Regions from separate parts of the Homo sapiens genome. Here regions 2 and 3 are each linked to region 1. Evidence: promoter capture Hi-C in human tissues and cell types (Jung and others, 2019). All regions are on one chromosome and are shown on one strand. Each heading gives the region's core, a stretch centred on a gene start or on the middle of the fragment in contact. The rest is flanking DNA. Distances are from core to core; before and after follow the strand shown.

Region 1 (4,870 bases), core at 1,665-4,164:
ACCAATAGCTTCAGGGTCTCACAAGCCAATCAACATAGACAGCAGTGCCACTGAGTCTATGACCGGTTAGGATAATAGGGCCTCAAATACTCTTATGAATCTTATAGACTCATATAAACCTGGTGTCAACATCATGCCACTATTCTATTCTATCTCAATAAGGACTCACCCAAATCTCATCTTGAATTGTAGCTCCCATAATTCCCATGCGTTGTGGGAAGGATCCGGTGGGAGATAACTGAATCATGGGGCGGTTTCCCCCATACGGTGCTCATGGTAATGAATAAGTCTCATAAGATCTGATGGTTTTATAAGAGGTTTCCCCTTTTGCTTAGGTCTCATTCCCTCTCTTGCTTGCCACCACGTAAGATGTGGCTTTGCTCCTCCTTGCTTTCCACCATGATTGTGAGGCCTCCCCAGCCATGTGGAACTGTGAGTCCATTAAACTTCTTTCCTTTATAAATTACCCAGTTTCAGGTATGTCTTTATTAGCAGCATGAGAAACAGAAAGATGTCCCCAAGTTGCTAGGAAAACATATTGGTGCCCAATGTCATGGAGAGGTTGATGTTCCTCCTCCAGGGGCTGTAGGATGAGGCCACCAAAATAAGCTTATCCCATCTGTGGCTTAAAAACATGTCCTGCTCAGTGGAAGTTGGCACTGATTTTCTAGGAATGCAGAACACTCCCAGCAAGAGAGTGAGGAGTGGGTCTCGTGAGTCAAATGTTTAGCCTAAGCTCTTGATTCACAGGTCAAGCTTAGGAAAGAAGCTTACCTTTGGAATATACATATTTGCATTCTAATAAAACATTTTTAAATTTTTTTTTGTATTTTCGTAGGCTATTGGGGAACAAGTGGTGTTTGGTTACATGAGTAAGTTCTTTAGTGGTGATTTGTGAGATTTTGGTGCACCCACCAACCGAGCAGCATACACTGCACCATATTTGTAGTCTTTTATCCCTCACCCCCTTCCCACCCTTTCCCCCGAATCCCCAAAGTCCATTGTGTCATTCTTATGCCCTTACATCCTCATAGCTTAGCTCCCACTTATGAGTGTGAACATATGATGTTTGGTTTTCCATTCCTGAGTTACTTCACTTAGAATAATGGTCTCCAATCTAATCCAGGTTGTTACAAATATCATTAATTCATTTTTATGGCTGAGTGGCATTCCATCATATAATTTATATATATATAAATTATATATATATAAATTATAATATTTGTATTATATATAATTATATACAATATAATTTATATACATTATACATAAATTATTATATATATATACATATATATATATACACACACACACACACACACCACAGCTTATCCACTCAATTGATGGACATTTGGGTTGGTTCCACATTTTTACAATTGCGAATTGTACTGCTATAAACATACATGTGCAAGTATCTTTTTTGTATAATGACTTATTTTCCTCTGGGTAGATAGCCAGTAGTTGGATTGCTGGATCGAATGGTAGTTCTACTTATAGTTCTTGAAGGAATCTTTACACTGTTTTCCATAGTGGCTGTACTAGTTTACACTGCCACCAGCAGTGTAGAAGTGTTGCCTGTTCACTGCATCCACGCCAACATCTATTTTTTTTTATTTTTTTTATTATGGCCATTCTTGTGGTTTCGATTTGCATTTCCCTAATCATTTGTGATGTTGAGCATTTTTTCATGTTTGTTGGCCATTTGTATATCTTTTGAGAATTATCTATTCATGTCATTCATGTCCTTAGCCCACTTTTTGATGGAATTGTTTGGTTTTTTTCTTGCTAATTTGTTTGAGTTCGTTGCAGATTCTGGATATTAGTCATTTGTCAAATGTATAGATTGTGAAGATTTTCTTCTAGACTGTGGGTTGTCTAGAACTCTGCTGTTCCTTTTGCCATGCAAAATCTCTTTAGTTTAATAAAGTCCTAGCTATTTATCTTTGTTTTTATTGCATTTGCTTTTGGGTTCTTGGTCATTGTGTTGCTGTCTATCTCATTTCTTAGGTCTAGTGGATAAAAGGGCGTCCATTGTCTCCTAAAGTTTTTATTATTTTTTATTTATGCTCTCTATTTCACTGAAGATTTCTCCCCTCATTTCTTGTATCTTTTTTTTTAATTTCCTTAAATTGGGCTTCACTTTTCTCTGGTGCCTCCTTGATTAGCTTAATAACTGACCTTCAGAATTCTTTTTCAGGTATATCACGGATTTCTTCTTGGTTTGGATCCATTGCTGATGAACTAATGTGATTTTTTGGGGATGTTAAAGAACCTTGTGTTGTCATATTACCAGATTTGGTTTTCTGGTTCCTTCTCATTTGTGTAGGCTCTGTCAGAGGGACGGTCTAGGGCTCAAGGCTGTTGTTCAGATTCTTTTGTCCCACAGGTGTTCCCTTGATGTAGTACTCTCCTCATTTCCTTCCGAATTTTTTTAATGAAAGCCTTTTATCTGTTCCCTCTGCAGAAGGGCCAAGGCGTTATCGTCGGCCACGCACAAGATTTCTCTCCAAACAACTCACAGCATTGAGAGAATTGCTTGAAAAGACCATGCACCCAAGTTTGGCTACAATGGGGAAACTGGCTTCAAAGCTACAACTTGATCTATCCGTAGTAAAGGTCTGTTCCCAAGTGTGTCTGTAGGTAGCACGCCTAACCCAGAGCTTCACACACACTTTTGATCATTGTTATAACAGTTCCTATTTATTGGCAATTGCTATGTGTAAGGACAGATGTTAAGCACTTTATATTTTTATTGTCATGAGCACCCACTTTATTGAGGAACACTAAAGCTCACATAGAAGAGCTGTCTTCCAAGCATTATAAACACAAGAGTTGGAATTTGAACCCAGACCTTTCCAACTCCAGACCCACCATGCTACACAGGACTCTTTGAGGCTGGATCTCAGATACTCCCATTTGGGTCTGTTCTTGTGTATTCAGGATGGGTTCTGCTTAATCAGGACCATCACAGTCATCCAGATGCCTGTCACTAAGTTCCCACAAAGTATTCATGGGAGAACACCTGGATGAACCCTAAAGATGACCCAAGCTAAACTCTCACCCCATACTCTGACTTTAAAATACTTTCTCTGGGCACCAGGAATGGTGGCTCACACTTGTAATCCCAGCACTTTGGGAGGTGGAGGCAGGAGGATCGCTTAAGCCCAGTTTAAGACCAGCCTGGGCAACATAGCAAGACCATGTCTTTACAAACAAAAATTAAAAATTAACCAGACATGGAGGCACATGGCTGTAGTCCCAGCTACTTGGGAGACTGAGATAGGAGGATTGCTTAAGCCCAGGAGTTCAAGGCTGCAGCGAGCTATGATTGCAGCACTGCACTCCAGGCTGGGTGACAGAGTGGTAGCTTGTCTCAAAAAAAAAAAATACACCACTAATAAAAACACCCTTCTATTTAATACATCACAATCTAGGTCATATTCCACCCATTGCTAGTACAATCCTACACCCACTTTTCCCTTGAAACCCAGGACAGCAGAGAGTAGAAAGGGCTTCCCTTGTTCCAATAAATGTGAGACTCTCTCTCACACCAAAAAACCGAATTCCTGAGGAACATGAGGATGCCCCTTTATACTCAACATCCATTATTAACCTCCCCCCTCCTCCCTCCTTAGATCTGGTTCAAGAACCAGCGTGCCAAATGGAAGAGGCAGCAGCGGCAGCAAATGCAGACACGGCCATCACTAGGGCCAGCAAACCAGACAACTTCAGTGAAGAAGGAGGAGACTCCCTCAGCCATAACTACTGCAAACATTCGTCCAGTAAGTCCTGGAATCTCTGATGCAAATGACCATGATCTACGTGAGCCTTCTGGTATCAAGAATCCTGGAGGAGCCAGCGCCTCTGCGAGGGTTTCATCCTGGGATTCTCAGTCATATGACATTGAACAGATATGTCTGGGGGCTTCAAATCCTCCTTGGGCCTCCACTCTCTTTGAAATAGATGAATTTGTAAAGATCTATGACTTGCCAGGGGAAGATGACACCAGCAGCCTAAATCAATATCTTTTTCCAGTATGCCTTGAGTATGACCAGCTCCAATCTTCAGTGTAACTTCTTACACATCACTTCTAGGGGAGGTCTGGATCTGACCCACTGAGACATATTTCCACACATCTTTAATGGTTTGACCCCAGTCTAAGTAGATCAGGGGCTGGGAATTTATCTTTTTCTGTAGAAAAAACAATAAAGGAACTCCCCTACCTTTCATCATTGCCTGCATTTTCTGAACTCCATTTGAGTGCCTCCTCACCCAAATTTCAGCATTAAAGATTGTATTCAGAGAAGTGACGCCAGGAACACAGTGACATAGGAGGTTCCTGATTGATGGACTGAATAAACGTCTGTGCCTACATCAGTTCTCTCTGGAAGAAAGTCAGAAGTGAGTGGAGAGACTCCTACACACCAGGCAACTAAGAAAATGTCTTAGCAGGCCAGTCGCGGTGGCTCACGCCTGTAATTCCAGCACTTTGGGAGGCCAAGGTGGGTGGATCACGAGGTCAGGAGATCAAGACCATCCCGGCTAACATGGTGAAACGCTGTCTCTACTAAAAATACAAAAAATTAGCTGGGTGTGGTGGTGGGCACCTGTAGTCCCAGCTGCTTGGGAGGCTGAGGCAAGAGAATTGCTTGAACCCGGGAGGCGGAGGTTGCGTGAGCCAAGATTGCACCACTGCACTCCAGCCTGGGCGACAGAGTAAGACTCCATCTCAAAAAAAAAAAAAAAGAAAAGGAAGAAAAGACAAGAAAAAAAATGTCTTATCAAACAGGCAGCAAAAGCTGAAGCACTCAGAAACACTAAACCCACCCTGGGCACTGAGCCATACAATCAGGAAGGAATCCCCAGTTCC
Region 2 (4,870 bases), core at 967-3,466, 240 kb before region 1:
CACAAGGTCAAGAGATCAAGACCATCCTGGCCAACATGGTGAAACCCCGTCTCTACTAAAAATACAAAAATTGACCAGGTGTTGTGGTGGGCGCCTGCAGTCCCAGCTACTCAGGAGGCTGAGGCAGGAGAATCACTTGAACCTGGGAGGCGGAGGTTGCAGTGAGCCGAGATTGCGCCACTGCACTCCAGCCTGGCGACAGAGTGAGACTCCCTCTTAAAAAAAAAAAATCACTAGTTTCGTGAAAACCCAAGGAAAAAATGATCTATTACAGCATCAAATATAAGATGCACCCACATTTCAGAGATGTTCAAATATGAAGTGAATTTTGAATTGAAGCAATACTATATTTGTGCACATGCCACATGATATACAAGATGAACTACTCTAGCAATTGTACAAGATGAACTACTCTAGCAATTTTTTATTCTGCCCAAAGAAAGAGATGGGAAACAACCTAAATGTCCGTCAATATATCCCTGGTTAAGTAAATTTGGACATAACCTCAGAATGGAATAAAATGCCACTTTAAAAAATAATGAGGAAATACAGTGGTTTGGAAGGGTCAACATATGTTCTTAATGAGAAAGCAATGTATAAACCAGTAAATATAATATGCCGACTTCTGTGAAGAAATAAAACAAGTAAACCCAGATTTATATGTGCCTGTGTACACGTAAGGAAACTAGAAGGACGGAAAGGAAACTGTGGCTATTAGAGGTCATCGTTGGTACTGGATGGAGGAAAACAAGAATGGAAGGCTTTTCGCTGTATATTTTATATATTTTTTGGCTTGTGAATAGATTTTTTAATACCAAAAAAACTTTAAAAATTAAAAATTGAAAGAAAAAAGTCCAGAAATTTGACGTTCTTGAAAACATGATTTATCACATAATATATACATTTACTTTGCTTGTCACTTGAAATGCCTAAGAAAACACAAAATCAATCTTAAACTAGAAACTTCTATTGAATATGACATGAAGAGAGCACATATTCCGACAATTTCAAGTTCTTTTCATAGCCTTCCAGTCCTAATAACTCAGCGTTAACATCTTATTCTGTTCAGCACTATTTGATAATTTCTTTCATCCTCATGGGCTCTAGTATTGATGTTTCATCAGTCTCAATTTTATAAAACCATCCTTTACTTTGTAATAAAGCAATGCTGAGAGACATTTTCCATAATGCAGGGGGAAAAATGTGGATCAATCACAAACTCAAAGAACGTTACAGTTATAATGCTTTCGACATTTTTTTCTACTTCTGTGATGCTTTTTCAAGATAAGCTTCCCCCTCCCCCTTTTTTTCCCCTCCACCTGTGCACTGTCTTATCGCGATATACTCTTGACTTCTGAAAATCAAGTTGCAGGATTGGTATGACTGGAATGCAGAGGTTCTCTTGAAGTAGTGTCACCACATAACTATTCTCTATTGATAAACTTATCGCAACCAAGTTCTTCTATCAGAGGGTTGATAACTTCAGAGGCAGTCAGAGCTATCGTAAAGGTTAAAATATCGAGGTCCACCCTGTGAGGATTTCGCTGATATTCGGCATCAAACGCTGCTTCCCTTGCTCTGCAGGCTTCCACGAATCGCCTGCGGCGTTCTTCAAGCTCTTGTATTCTGCCGGGAGCAATCGGGTAATTTTCCAGATAGTGGCGGAGAAACTGCTGGTAATTGATGCCTAAAACGCTAAGTGGGTGGCGGAGACGGAGATAGGGCAACGCAGCCAGGCCTCCGTTCCCGTGTCTGGACCTGGGCCTGCCCTCGGGACCCTCTTCGTCCACTGGCTCCCCCAGCAAGCGGGCGACCTCCGCCATCCGGGCTTCCCTGGCCGCCGCCGCCGCCGGGCTTTCCCTGCCCGCCGCGGCTGCCCTGGCCAACGCCGCCGCTGCCACCGGGGCTCCCCTGGCTGCCGCCGCCGGGGCTGCCCTGGCCGCCGCCATCCGACCTTCCCTGGCCGCCGGCACCGGGCCTCCCCTGGCCGCCGCCATCGCGCCTTCCCCGGCCTCCTCAGGCTGTGCCGGGGCCGGCTCCCGCCTCCCGCGGCCTACCTCCGCCTGCGGGACGTCTCTGTCACCATTCGCCGCGCCTGTCTGCGGGACACTGCTGTCTGCGGGCAGCTTGGACATCTCAGACCGTGGGGTCAACTCGGCTGCTCCCAGAGAAACTGGAATAACTGGACAGAGCGATGCCCGGCGGACACCCCAGTGCGCGTGCGTGGGCGCTATGCGCGCTGTAAATGCAGTGTGCGTAACCGGGCGCGAGAGCATAGATTCTTACCGCAAACCCTGGGAGCAGTGCGCATGCGTACTTTCCCGGCGCCCGCCGTTCTCCAGATGCCCCCTCGAGGCCGGGAAGCGCCAACGCATCTGAAACATCCCAACGACGAAGGGCGGGGGACATTTCAACCAGTTTGATGTTTATGAGGAACGCTTACAAGATCGCTTCTTGTAGGCGTTCTCAAGGTTCTGTCCTAGGGTGTTTCTCTTTGTTCTCCAGTGATTATGTGCCACCTCTATTATATATCAAGATATTTTAGATTCATGGTCTTTTCTGGATTTTTAAATTGTTTTTCATTCATTCCTTTGCCTGTCTTCATCCATACGGATCGTCCTAGCTACCAAAGCTTTGTAATTACAGTCTTTTCGTGTTATCTTTAACATTGCATTGACTACCTTGGACATTTGTTTTTCGAATCTTATTTGTGCAATATAACATGCAGAAAAGTAAACAAAACATAAATATACAGCTGAATGATTTATCACAAAGTGAACATCCGTTTAACTACCACACAGTCCAAGAAGTGGAATATTTCCAGCATCCCAGAACCCTTCCTCTTCTTCTTATCACTATCCTTTCCTTTCTACGCAGAAGTAACAACTATGCTGATACTTATGGTAATCACTTTCTTGTTTTTCTTTTCATTTTACCACCTAAGGGTGCATTCCTAATGCTGTAGTTTAGTTTGGTTTGTATTCTGAACTTTATCTATGTGAGAAACACACTCACCTGCGTAATTTTTGTATTTTTAGTAGAGACGAGGTTTCACCATGTTGGCCAGGATGGTCTCGATCTCTTGACCTCGTGATCCGCCTGCCTCGGCCTCCCAAAGTGCTGGGATTACAGGCGTGAGCCACTGCGCCGGCCACTTTCTTCCCTTTTATGGGCTGACCCCGCCTCTACATTCTGTTCCCTTATTGTGACCTTCTAGGTGGATGAGCCCTGCAGTTTGTTATATTTGCAGGCTGGCTGCCAGTACTTAGATTTATCATGCCTCAGAAATGGACCATTTAAAATGTTTTCTCACATACACACTTGTATCTGTTTTTTTGTGCATTATTTTTATGAGATTCATCCATTCACATTTTCTCTTCCTCCCTCCCTCCCTCACTCCCTTCCTTCCTTCCTTCCTTCATTCCTTCTTTCTTTCATCTCATTCTGTTACCCAGACTGGAGTGCAGTGGCACAATCACAGCTCAACGTGGCCTCAACCTTCCGAGCTCAAATAATCCTCCCACTTCAGTCTCCTGAGTACCTGGGACTACAGGTGTACACCACCACACCCAGTTAATTTTTAATTTTTTTGTAGAGACAGGGTCTCCTTATGTTGCCCAGGCTGGTCTCAAAGTCCTGGGCTCAAACGACCCGCCTGTCTCAGCCTCCCAAAGTGCTGGGATTATAGGGTGAGCCAGAGCACTCGGCCTCCAGCCTACATTTTCATTATGGTTTATAAATACTTTATTTTCTTGATAGTTATTATATTCATTACCATTTTTTTTATGAAGTCTCGCTCTGTTGCCCAAGCTGAAGTACAGTGGTGTGATCTTGGGTCACTGCAACCTCTGCCTCCCAGTTCCAGTGATTCTCCTGCCTCAGCCTCCTGAGTAGCTGGGATTACAGGTGCGCGCCACCATGCCCGGCTAATTTTTGTATTTTTAGTAGAGACAGGGTTTTATTATATTGGCCAGGCTGGTCTCGAACTCCTGACCTCATGATCCGCCAGGCTTTGGCCTCCCAAAGTGCTGATATTACAGGCGTGAACCACTGTGCCCGGCTTATTACCATTCTTTTATGGATCTTGTAATATTAAAACATGCATCTTATATACTGACTCTCCAATTAATTTCCCTTTGTTCTGATTAATGTGAACAAACAAAATAATTTGATTTGATTTTGCTGGTGGTGGTCCCCGTCATGATGCCATGATTCATGACCATCAACAAATGACTTAAGTGACTTATCGTTCTCTGCCCTATCAGAAGTAGCTATTCTGAGGCAGTAAGGTCTCATCCACAGAGCACAAGACTGCATTTTAATTTTCCTGGTCCAAGCACCAAATTAATAAAACACAACAGCTAGTCTACTTGCTGCTTCCCACCAGCATCTCTGCAATCACTAAGTGTGCGGCTCCTTTAAGGCAGCTCCCAGGCTAGGCTGGAGACAGATCTATTGTTCTCACCCTCAGGCTGCCTGGAGAGTCACAAATATTTAACAAAGGAAGTTCCAGACTTAGGTGACAACATATATTATCACAGGAAGAAGTAGAAATCATAGTAATTTGCTGTAATCCTACAGAAGCGGATATAATCTTGTTCTCTGGACTAAGAGTCACCTTACAGCAGAAGCTGAAAGGCCCTCTGATTTTCTAAGAATAGAAATTGCTCTAAGTAAAATGATGGTTTATTAGATCCGGAAGTGATATAAAAATGGTTCTAGGAAAATGAAGTGAACTAAAATAAGAAGCTACAAATAGAGGAAGGCAGAAAAACTTGGTGATAATGTGAGGGGATACAAACAAAAATTTGAGAGGTAGTCCAGGTTTGCTGTTGCTCCCAAGACTGTGCCTGCGGTGGCTGCAGCATCT
Region 3 (4,870 bases), core at 608-3,107, 180 kb before region 1:
TTTCAACAACTTCACGAGAAAGAAACAAACAAACCCATAAAAAAGTGGGTAAAGAGCTTGACACAGTGGCTCATGCCTGTAATCCCAGCGCTTTGGGCAACCAAGGCTGGTGGATCACTTGAGCCCAGGAATTTGAGAACAGGCTGGGTAACATGGCAAAAACCCATCTCTACTAAAAATAGAAAAAAAAAATAGCCTAGCATGGAGACATGCACCTGTAGTCCCAGCTACTCAGGAGACTGAGCTTAGAAAAATCACCTGAGCCCCGGAGCCAGAGGTTACAGTGAGCCAAGATGGTGCCACATCACTCCAGCCTGAATGTCAGAGTGAGACCTGTTTTAAAACAACAACAAAAAAGTTGAGCAAAGGACACGAACAGACACTTTTCAAAAGTAAGGATACAGGTGGCCAAAAAACATATAAAAAAGCTCAATATCACTGAACATTAGAGAAATGCAAATCAAAACCACAGTGAGATACCATCTCACACCAGTCAGAATGGCTGTTATTAAAAAGTCAAAAAAGGACAGATGCTTCAAGGTTGTGGAGAAAAGGGAGAACTCACACATTGTTGGTGACAGTGTAAATTAGTTCACCCATTGTGGAAAGCAGTGTGGTGATTCCTCAAAGAGCTAACAATAGATCTACCATTCAACCCAGCAATCCCATCACTGGGTGTATACCCAGAAGAAAAGAAATCATTCTGCCATAAAGACATATGCACATGAATGTTCATTGCAACACTATGCACAATAGCGAAGACACAGAATGAACCCAAATGCCAATCAATGACAGATCGGTTACAGAAAATGTGGTACATGTACACAATGAAATACTATGCAGTCCTAAAAAAGAATGATATTATGTCTTTTGCAGGAACATGGATGGAACTGGAGGCCATTATTCTTAGCAAACTAATGCAGGAACAGAAAACCAAATACTGCATGTTCTCACTTATCAGCGTGAACTAAATGAGGAGGCTCATGGACATCAAGAGGGAAACAACACACACTGGGGCCTCCTTGAGGGTGGAGGATGAAAGGTGGAAGAGGAGAAAAAAAATAACTTTTGAGTACTACACTTAGTAACCAGGTGAAGAAATCATATACACCACAAATCCCATGACACGACTTTATCTGCATATGTACCCCGAACCTAAAATAAAATGAAAGAAAAATCAAATAAAAACAACAATCTCACCTTCCTCCCAGAATCTGCAGGAGAAACAGTGTCTCTGAAACTTTTATTTACATGGACACCAAGAGAAAGGAGAGGGTGTAGCTAGAGCCCAGGTGTGTGACAGTCAGGTGAGAGTGGCCCTTACCTGGCAGAGCCAAGCAGCCTAGTGTGGAATAGGTTCATGCAAGAAATTTCTCTGCTTCTCTCCACAGATCCTCCTGAGGATCAAGGTCAGTGCTCTCCCAGAACGTTCAAAAGCAGAGAGAATCATTACCTTCTAGGGCTAATGTATTTCCCCAAAATCTCCAACTTTTTTCTTTTCAGCCGTTGTACAAATTGGGAAAATGTACACTTTCTGGGTATATTCTGCATAGATGAGAAAAGGCTTGAGAGGCATAAAGGCTGGGCTTTACAACCACTACCGCTCACTCCATCATCTTTATCTATGCATTTCCCTGGTAACCCAATCCACAGCCTGGTAACTCCCCCACTGTCACTTCTGCTGCATTACAGATACAGACCTGCAAATAGCTATGGTTGTGACTGAGTTTCTTCCTAACAACTAAACCTGTCTAAAGCTGCAAGGAAATCTTGCTGGGAGGAGCTTGGAATCTGGAATGAAGCCCGAGGGCAAGGCTGAAGTGGGTCATTTAAATGCTGCAACTCAGAGATTCACTCAGAAGACTGGACTCAATTCTGAAGGTCGCCAAGAAGGAGAGAACAATGTCTTCTTTACCCGTGAGTTGAAAAGGCACAGCCTTCAAAAATTTCGTGTCACACAAACCAAGAAAGAAATGGGAGATTTTATGAGATGAAAATATGAGCATTTTTGCTGTGAATGCTTTACTTAGAGCTATTGAGGTGTGGAATAGAAACCCTGAGGCTATGGTATCTGAGATGCTTGTGGGGATTGCGGTGTGGACCCTGGACCAGTGTAACCTTCGGTGAGTGTGAGGTGGTGTCTGATGAGCATAAACTCTGCGGAGATAATGTGACTTTAAGTGGGAGGTGGATTACCCACCAGGACGAGCAGGTGTGTGAATGGAGAGTAAAGGGGTGAGTCGGCTTTGTTTCCTGTCTATGATGTGAGTATGTGTGTGAGCACAGCCAGACCAGTGCATGAGCATCGTTATGTGCACAGTGAGCAGGTGTGTGTGACGCAGTGAGTGGTGTGGCTCTGTGTGACTGTGAGTGTGTGTGCTGGGATGTGACTGTATGTTGAAGTGGGATCATGCATGTGGCTTTCTTCACATGTGAATGTTTCTCCCCACACAGCAGCACCTCTGATGTGAATCCCATGTGGCTTAACTGGTGGGGATCTTGGGGATTGTGAGTTACCAAGGACTTATTTCAGATCACTTGTGAGAGCAGAATGTATGATCAGTAGATGTCTCTTCCCAGTAAGAGTGGGGAAGAGGAATGCAGACTATGGGGGTGATGGTTCCTCAGGTGGGGTCTGCACAGAGTGACCACTGTCTCTTGCCTCCCAGGCTCAGCTTGCCTGTCCCTAGCCCATCCAGTTCTTCCCACTGTGTGACAGGAGGGTGTGCAGATACTGGTTTGTTAGGGAAGGACATTAGAGGCCGTGATTTCAGAGACTGAATCACACAAAATATCCACTGTAAGCTCTGTCTGAACTGAGACTAAACTTGTTCTACACCCATGAAAGAACAAGTTAAGTCTCAGTTCAGAAGGAGCTTACAGTGGATATTAATCAACCAAGCAGCTGGGTTCACTGGCTTATGGCTATAATCCCACCAATTTTGGAGGCAAAGATGAGAGGATAACGAGGCCAGAAGTTTGAGACCAGTCTGGGTATCAGAGTGAGACCCTTTCTTTAAAAAACTTTAAATATTTGACTGGCAGAGAGGCAGGTACCTTTCTTCCCAGCTATTCAAGAGGGAGCAGATGTGTGAGATTCACTGCAGCCCAGGAGTCTGAGGTTTCAGTGAACCATGATTGCATCCCTGCATGTCAGCCTGGGTGACAGAGCAAGAACCTATCTCAAAAGTACAGAAAAATCATCTCATCTACTTGTAGTCATCATAGAAATCAATCATTCCCTCCAGTTATGTCCCTGACCCACAAGCTTCATTTGTGCAAGTACTGGGGCTGTGCTCTCAGTAGTGTGTGCCCCTTCTTGGAAGGATGTCCATGGCCCTTGATGATAGTGATGCATGTGCATCCCACACACAGGGGTTTCCTGTTCTTTCATCATTTCCCTCTCCCTTTCAACAAGTGTTGTTTCTCACTGGAGTGAATGTTTAAATTCTTACATTTACAAGTCTTGTTTTAATTTTCAGAGTTGAAAATGAAGGCAGGTCAGTCTTTCAAGAGGACTCTCCTGTCCTGTTAGGTCACCCTAAGAGGCCCTACGCATGACAGGGATTAGGGTAACACTTTTACATGTATTAACTCCCTATTACGGAGAACATCCTACAAAGTAGAAATTCCTGATAATCCTCGTTGTCCTAGGGAAAATGAGGGAGAGTTCAAGTAGCAAATCTAAGACTGCACTGCTAGTAAAAGGCAGAATGAGGACTGGAATCCAGGCATCCTGGCTCCTGAACCCTTGCTCTAACTTATGGGTCCGCCATATCTTCAGGAATATGGGGCCCTGAATGCGGTAGGGTTAAAGAGGAGAGTCCACAGAGTCTGCCCTTTCATCTCCAACCTCCTGCACCATGAGAATATGTTACAGGAGGGGAGACTGCACCTGACCCTGCACCTCTCACTTACTCTCAATACTCTGGCAGGTGCCATACAAACTGCCTGTGTCTTTGTCTGTTGGTTCCTGCGTGATAATCAAAGGGACACCAATCCACTCTTTTATGTGAGTACTCCATGGTCCAATGGAGGGGTTGGAGAAGAAGGGAGAATATTTGCGAAGATTTGACCTTACATGTGGGTGATGTGGAAATGTCTAGTTGGCAGAATGGAGGCCCCATGCAGGTGCAGGTCTTGGAGACCCTCCAGCACCAGGCATGAGACCCACAGCAACTGCATGTGGGCCAGCCATGGGGCCTACAGGAGGAGAACACTCAGTGGGTTGGGGCTGTGGCTCTTTATCAGGGGGCATAGAATTTTCGGGAATGAACAAGTCATAGGCCCAGGTCAGTGACTGTGGCTCAGTTTTCATCTGGGGATGAGGAGCACAGAATCTCCCTGCCTGGGGGCATGAGGAGCTGAAGCATCCCCACAGGGACCTGGCCATCAGTATTATCTGGGAGACTTTTTCCCTAGGTAAATGGGGGAAGGGATTTGTGTGTGTGTCGAGTGTGTGTCTGCGCAAGGGAGGGACCTGCCCAACATTCTGCGTGCTTCACCCTCAGCAATGACCCACAGCTGCAGGTGGATTTCTACACTGACATGGATGAGGATTCAGATATTGCCTTCCGTTTCCGAGTGCACTTTGGCAATCATGTGGTCATGAACAGGCGTGAGTTTGGGATATGGATGTTGGAGGAGACAACAGACTACGTGCCCTTTGAGGATGGCAAACAATTTGAGCTGTGCATCTACGTACATTACAATGAGTATGAGGTGAGCATCCCAGGAGCTCCCAGCACCCAGGCTCTGTGGGCTCCCAAAACAGGAGGCAGCTCTCATTGATCTGGCCTCAGTAGTCCGTCAGGGTCCATCTCCCATAACTACTCCTGCCCCTGGTTTTCATCACAGAGCACCCCCTGCT

Evidence for each region. Contacts are between HindIII fragments. The study calls those that stand out against the background at their distance.
Region 2: the fragment with the promoter of EID2 here is called in contact with a fragment that was not itself captured in region 1 in 1 of the 25 tissues and cell types used here (H1 embryonic stem cells).
Region 3: a contact is called between the fragment with the promoter of LGALS13 here and a fragment that was not itself captured in region 1, in 2 of the 25 tissues and cell types used here (mesendoderm cells and thymus).

Annotation. Positions count from the first base shown.
Region 1 is chr19:39,782,063-39,786,932 of GRCh38, forward strand. It overlaps LEUTX (leucine twenty homeobox), which reads left to right. Exons shown (of 3, transcript NM_001382345.1): 2 at 2,465-2,616; 3 at 3,636-4,229. The coding sequence ends at 4,073. Among named protein-coding and RNA genes, the nearest start is that of LEUTX, 5.6 kb to the left of the region's middle. The HindIII fragment of the contact is 5,263 bases long and covers 284-4,870 here.
Region 2 is chr19:39,537,945-39,542,814 of GRCh38, forward strand. EID2 (EP300 interacting inhibitor of differentiation 2) reads right to left here and starts at 2,217. Exons shown (of 1, transcript NM_153232.4): 1 at 763-2,217. The coding sequence starts at 2,135. The coding sequence ends at 1,425. RefSeq lists a silencer at 1,922-2,001 and an enhancer at 1,973-2,472. The HindIII fragment of the contact is 2,915 bases long and covers 1,961-4,870 here.
Region 3 is chr19:39,600,667-39,605,536 of GRCh38, forward strand. LGALS13 (galectin 13) reads left to right here and starts at 1,858. Exons shown (of 4, transcript NM_013268.3): 1 at 1,858-1,917; 2 at 3,936-4,012; 3 at 4,512-4,722. The coding sequence starts at 1,903. The HindIII fragment of the contact is 10,640 bases long and covers 1-4,870 here.